2 separate regions of the Homo sapiens genome follow, and region 1 is linked to region 2. The links are contacts of gene promoters, found by promoter capture Hi-C in blood cells and fetal thymus (Javierre and others, 2016). All regions are on one chromosome and are shown on one strand. The core of a region is centred on a gene start or on the middle of the fragment in contact, and the rest is flanking DNA. Distances in the headings are between cores, read along the strand shown. Region 1 overlaps MTUS1 (microtubule associated scaffold protein 1). Region 2 holds the start of PDGFRL (platelet derived growth factor receptor like).

The links. The method cuts DNA at HindIII sites, captures the fragments that hold promoters and counts their contacts. A CHiCAGO score of 5 or more calls a contact.
Region 1: a contact is called between a fragment that was not itself captured here and the fragment with the promoter of PDGFRL in region 2, in 3 of 17 cell types (naive CD8 T cells, fetal thymus and activated CD4 T cells). The highest score is 5.9, in naive CD8 T cells.

The regions. Positions count from the first base shown.
Region 1 is chr8:17,712,160-17,714,863 of GRCh38, reverse strand. It overlaps MTUS1 (microtubule associated scaffold protein 1), which reads left to right. Exons shown (of 15, transcript NM_001363059.2): 6 at 1,612-1,650. Among named protein-coding and RNA genes, the nearest start is that of MIR548V, 32 kb to the right of the region's middle. The HindIII fragment of the contact is 2,798 bases long and covers 1-2,704 here.
Region 2 is chr8:17,575,614-17,578,611 of GRCh38, reverse strand. It overlaps PDGFRL (platelet derived growth factor receptor like), which reads right to left and starts at 1,396. Exons shown (of 6, transcript NM_001372073.1): 1 at 1,305-1,396. The coding sequence starts at 1,359. RefSeq lists silencers at 991-1,040, 1,131-1,190. The HindIII fragment of the contact is 7,010 bases long and covers 1-2,998 here.

The sequences.
Region 1 (2,704 bases), core at 148-2,647, 140 kb before region 2:
ACTAAAGCCTGAGCGAATAATTGTGAGTGAGAAACTTGACCTATAAAATGAGACCCACATTTATGTTAGAGAATTTGGAAAACACAGAAACAAAGAGTCTTCCTTAATTCTGTCAACCAGCAATTGCTGTCACATTTCCTTGTGACTTTTTTCCTCTGTATGTATATGTTGTTTTGTTTTTATTCCAGCAAAACTGAGGTAATAATGAATATACTCTTCTGTATCTTGCTTTTTATTAAGTTAGTAGTGTATCAGGAGAGCTTCTTCACTTTAAATGGCTATTCTATGGTTGTCCACTTCAGTTTATAGTGGGCAACTTCTGACTTTTATTGGGGTTTATTAATACTGAGATGAACCTCTTCAAATGTGAGTCAAGATTCATTGTTTCAGATTCTGGTTACTTGTGGATATCCCAGAAGGAGGAATTACTGGGTTAACCTGCATGAAACTCTTTGGATTGTTAATATCTATTAGTAACTTTCTCAGAGGTGTTACTCTGTCACAGCATCCTCCTTAACATGTCTCTCTCTCTCTCTGTGTGTGTGTTTAAAGGATAATATGGTACCTTGAGGCTGGTTAATGTATGTCAATACCTTTTCTTTGTACTGAATTGAAGAGAAAATAGGCATGAATTTTAGGAGTGGGTTGAATTCTTCAGTGTGCAGCAGGTTGTCATTTGCCTAGGGAGTTAATCAAATTTCGGAGGCACCAAATGACCTCTTGCTGAGTTGACATCAGGTTGGAAAACTGTGGTTTTTTATTGATGATGATAAAGCCCCATGATCCACACAGCAATAATGAAGTTAACGCTGTTGAACTTTGATACTAAAATAACTTGCAGAGAATGAGATTCCATGGACAGCTTTGTAGAACAGGAGACTCAGAATTCTAAAATGCCTCACTATTGAATGGATAGGTTATGTCGCAACAGTTTTACCTGTGTGGGAATCAGTGCTTTCCATTGATAACAGCCACGTATTTTAAGAGATCATCATCTCTGTAAAATTTCAGATAGAACATGGTAGCTGTTCTAACTGGTATCTGCAGATGATTATGTCCTAGAAACAACTATTTCATGTTAAGTAGAAGCATCATAGATTTCTTTTAGTGACTTACAGCTGTGTACCTATTACCCCTCCTGATTTTATATTTTATCAGTTTGGAGGAAAAACTTCTATTTTTCTTCATAGCTGAATAGAAACGGGTAGTTTCGGAAAGCACACGGGAGTGACTGTCCTTCGTGAAGTCTGGCCTCTGCTCTCCCGGCAGCAGAATGGCATATGTGCACAGTCTGTGAATTCAGTACTGTTAAAACTTGAACTTCAGCTGTTCTTGACTGAAAAAATACTGCGGCTTTTCCTTTTAAAACTGGTCCTATTTAATTTGTGGTGACTTCATATCATACTTAAACATTTTGATGTTATGTGAAATATCACCTTATATTTAAAATGCACTTGACAAAAGTTGGTTGAATCTCGGTGATATTTCCCACCGGGAACCTGAAATGTAGCGATTGATTGTTTTTGAAAATAATTCTTATCAACATGGTTTGTTTTTATGTGATATGTCAAATAAAACATATGTATTTTACATGTTTCTTTTATATCTTAGGTCCTTCGAGAAAAAATTTATTTACAGCTCTTAATGCAGGTGAGTGACCACTTTATGGATGGCGATAAAAAGAATCTTTTTGTAAAGTTATGTTACTACAAGTATTTACAGTGATTTTTTACTGGTGTGCTTATAAGTAGAATTTCCAATTTGAGGTGTAAACCTAACTTTTTATGACGGGTCGCATAGCATTAAAATACGGTAAGCATGACTGGCCATCTAATGCATGAAAGGACATTGTATTACTAATAGATAGTTATAGTCTTTTAAAAAATGATTTTGTTAATGTGGTCTAAATGAAATGGAAAATGTACTTCCCCCAAGATCAATGCTATTTTGAAATTGGATATTCCTTAATTTTTAAGTGGTCTCAATATTTGGTTTTAGCACCTTTTCCCAGTTCAGCAGCCTATATTTTTATGTTTTTTTTTTCACACTTTCACTGGACTTAACATTCCCAAGATAGCCTGCAGCCTCCACTATTTGAACCACAGCTGAGAATCCAAAACTTTATGTCTCTCAAGAACCCATAAAAGATTTCACAAAATATCTTCACTGCGATTCCTATACTTTGGATGGATGGATGGATGGACAGACAGACAGACCGACAGATAGGCTGGGCCCAGTGGCTCACACCTGTAATCCCAGCACTTTGGGAGGCCAAGGTGGGTGGATCACTTGAGGTCAGGAGTTCAAGACCAGCCTGGCCAACATGGTGAAACCCCATCTCTACTAAAAATACAAAAAAGTTTGCCGGACGTGGTGGTACGCTCCTGGAGTCCCAGCCACTCAGGAGGCTGAGGCAGGATAATTGCTTGAACCTGGGAGGCAGAGGTGGCATTGAGCGTAGATTACACCACTGCACTCCAGCCTGGGTGACACAGTGAGACCCTGTCTCAAAAAAAAAAAGATAGATGGATTGATCTCTCTAGATAGATAAGGTCTCCTGTACACTGCCTACATTGTCTTATTTTATATACAGTGATAAAACAGTTATGTGCCTTCTAAATCCATGGCAGATTAGAAGAGCAAATCAGAAGAAACGAAGGTACAAGCATCGCTCATTTTCTGGAGCCTTGCAAATACTGTGCTT
Region 2 (2,998 bases), core at 147-2,646:
AAAAATGATACTACAAATTACATTTCTGCCTTTTCAGCGGTTGCACACAAGGGCCTGCCAGGAGCATTTTAATATTGCATTTTACAAACTGAACTCATGGCAACTTCTCTCTGGGCAGAGTTAAGTGTTACTCTCCCAGTAGAAGCTCTGCCTACGTTTTATTAAGCAAAGCTCTAGGCTGAAGGACCCTCATGCTCAACTTCAAGTACCACGACTATCTTGGATTTTGCAAACTACAATGCGGTATTTTTTTGGCAAATGTAGTTTCCTAGGAAAGAAAGGAACTGGTCAGGATGAACGAGTGGATAAAAATGTGAGCCAGGTCGAGCTGGCTCCAGCATGAAGTTGCATAACAGCAAAAGCTACTTTTCCACTAAATCTAAGCAAAAATTGTGTTGTAGCCCAGGAATTTCAAGAGAGGGTTGAGGACACCAGGAGGCACCCAGATGAAACATGTACTGTACAAATAACACCCATGGAGTGAATAGAGCAAACAAAACATTTAAATGCTAACAATAATATATAATACACACCACAGTAATACACACACCCAGACACACAGAAAAATAACACCAGACCCTGTGGTCACGGGTGTACACGACAGGGTGGACCCAGGACAGGTACACATTCAAAAACGCGCAGCGGTCATGGTCCCATAAGCTGTACCAAAAAAATGCATTTTCTTCACCATTTCCCATCCAATTAGATAAATATAATAAGCCGTGGGCTTTTGATTCGTTTTGAAGTTTCATACACTGACATTTTTGTTCGAAGATCTAGGCAGATCTTGCAGGATTCAAGCAAAAGGTGGTAGACGAAAACACGCCCAGAACTGCGAGGGGAGGGGGAGGTCACCTGGAACTCTGCAACCGAATCAGCGATTGCCGAGCTTAGGTGGCACTCGCTCTCAGCAGCAGAGGTCCCAGCCACGCCGCTGGGAGGTGGAAGCGATCCGAGGCTCCCGCCCCACCTCCCAGACCGACACGTTGACACTGGGGGCTGGACCAGGCGCTGGCTGGGGATGCTTGGTTCGCCCGGAGATGGGGACTTGGAGAGGTCCTGGTGGGCTCCTAAGGGTCGGGGTAGCTGCCACCACCCCTAGAGGGCTCTCCGGGCAGGCAAAGAGTGGGAGGAAAGGAGACCCCACCAGGAGGGGGCAGGTGCACCGGGCAGGCAGTGGCGCGGGGGCTGAGCCACCGAGGGCCGAACGTTAGACCAAGAGCTGGCAGGAGGGCGGCGGGGGCTTCGGGTCCCGGCTAAAGTCAGGGCACAAGCTAGGTGGCCCCGCGCCCAGAGTCACTCACCATCCTCCAGCGCTTCGTGCACCAGCAGAAGACCAAGCAGCAGCCAGACCTTCATCTCGGGAACCTCGGACCTCGGAGCGCAGGAGCGCGGCGGCTGCGCGGGGCGGGGACGCAGGGGAGGCGGCGGGCGAGGGGCGGGCTCCTGGGACGCCGAAGCGGGAGGATTCGGTTTCTTCAGGAGGAACAAGGTTTGGGGGAAAAAGTTGGGGAATTTTTTTTTTTTTTAGTTCTCTGTGTAATGTGACTTCTCCTGCCCCCTGGCGGAGCCGCGGTGCGCAGCACTTCTTCCCAGCGCGGGGAGGAAAGGCTAAGCGTGAAATGTACATTACAACAGCCATTCCTTGAATTTCTCCAACGCTTGGCGTTTTCACCAAGGTTATCAAGTTCAAGAAGGATCAGCGGGTGCTGATGGGGTCACTTTTAACCACGATTGTCCAAATGTTACCAGCGCCCGCCCCACCTCCTCAGGCAGAACCTGAGTGCTCTGTAAAAAGTGCTTCCTAAATTATTTCTGTTCATTCCATTTCTCTCCCCCACATGCACTCACTCACAGGACCGTTGCCCCGGGTTCTTGCTGCTCCTCTGTGTCTGGCCAGAGTTGGTCTCCGCACCCAGCCCTGTAACTGCTGGTGGGGGTGGGAGGACGGGTTCATTACAGGAATAACGTGGAAAATGAGACTGTGCAGACAACCCGGGCCTCTGGTGGTGAGGCAGGAGAACAGGGAATTAGGGTAAGCACGGGCTAGGGTATGAGCAGGAGAACAGCAGGTGCAGCCAGTTCGCAGAAGCAAAAGATCAGCAGGTGCAGACAGTTCTAGGCATGATTAGGCGGCACACAGGCCACATCCTCGCTCCTCTGATAACAAGGCAGAAGTTTCCACTTCAGCCTCGGACTGGTCGCAGGCCAGTCCTTCGTAAGGTGTAACCAGTTGGAGGCCTCTAAAGGGAACCCAAGGGTGTTGCCAAGTTCTTTTCGCTTTATAAAATCCCTGGGGAGCGTCAGGCTCTTGTGGCTTGCTGCAGCGCCCTCTGTGAATTGTCTTCTATAAATCTACGTTTTCCTTCCTCCCTTCTGTTGCTTTGTTTTTCCTTGCTTCTTTCTTTCGTTACTCCGTGCATTTCGTTCAATTTTTTGTTCAACAGGCCAAGAACCTGGACAACTCTATCAGGTAACAGTGGGGCAGAAGATACGGGCTTTCACAAGTCCCTCTGCAGAGAGCCATCCTGCGTTTCTGAGCTTGCAGACTCTCATGATCAAAGCAGTTTGCTAGCGGGGGAGATGCCTGTGTGTGTTCCCCCGGTGAGAAGCAGCCCATCTCATTGTAATCTTCAGCACCAGGCACTGCTATTAAAGGGAGCTCAATTCTAAATAACAGGAAAGGGACTTGTCCCTCAACACCCAACGAAAGAAGTGCTGCCATTTATAACAAACTAATGCTTCTCAGTCACTTCTGCAGGAGGAACCAAGAATTCTATATTCTGTTGCCAGCTCTAGCCGGAGCTTTGCCACTCGCTTGCCTTGCGATGCAGAGAGCAGTTGGCTGGGAATAAAGACCAGAGTTCAGATGCTGACACTGGCACAAACTCTCCATGCCTCTCAGAATTCACTTAACCTTCTGGGTTTTAGCATCTCTTGTTTATTAAGAAAGGGAACTAGGTGATTATTTCAACAGGAGTTTGCTATGTGATTAACA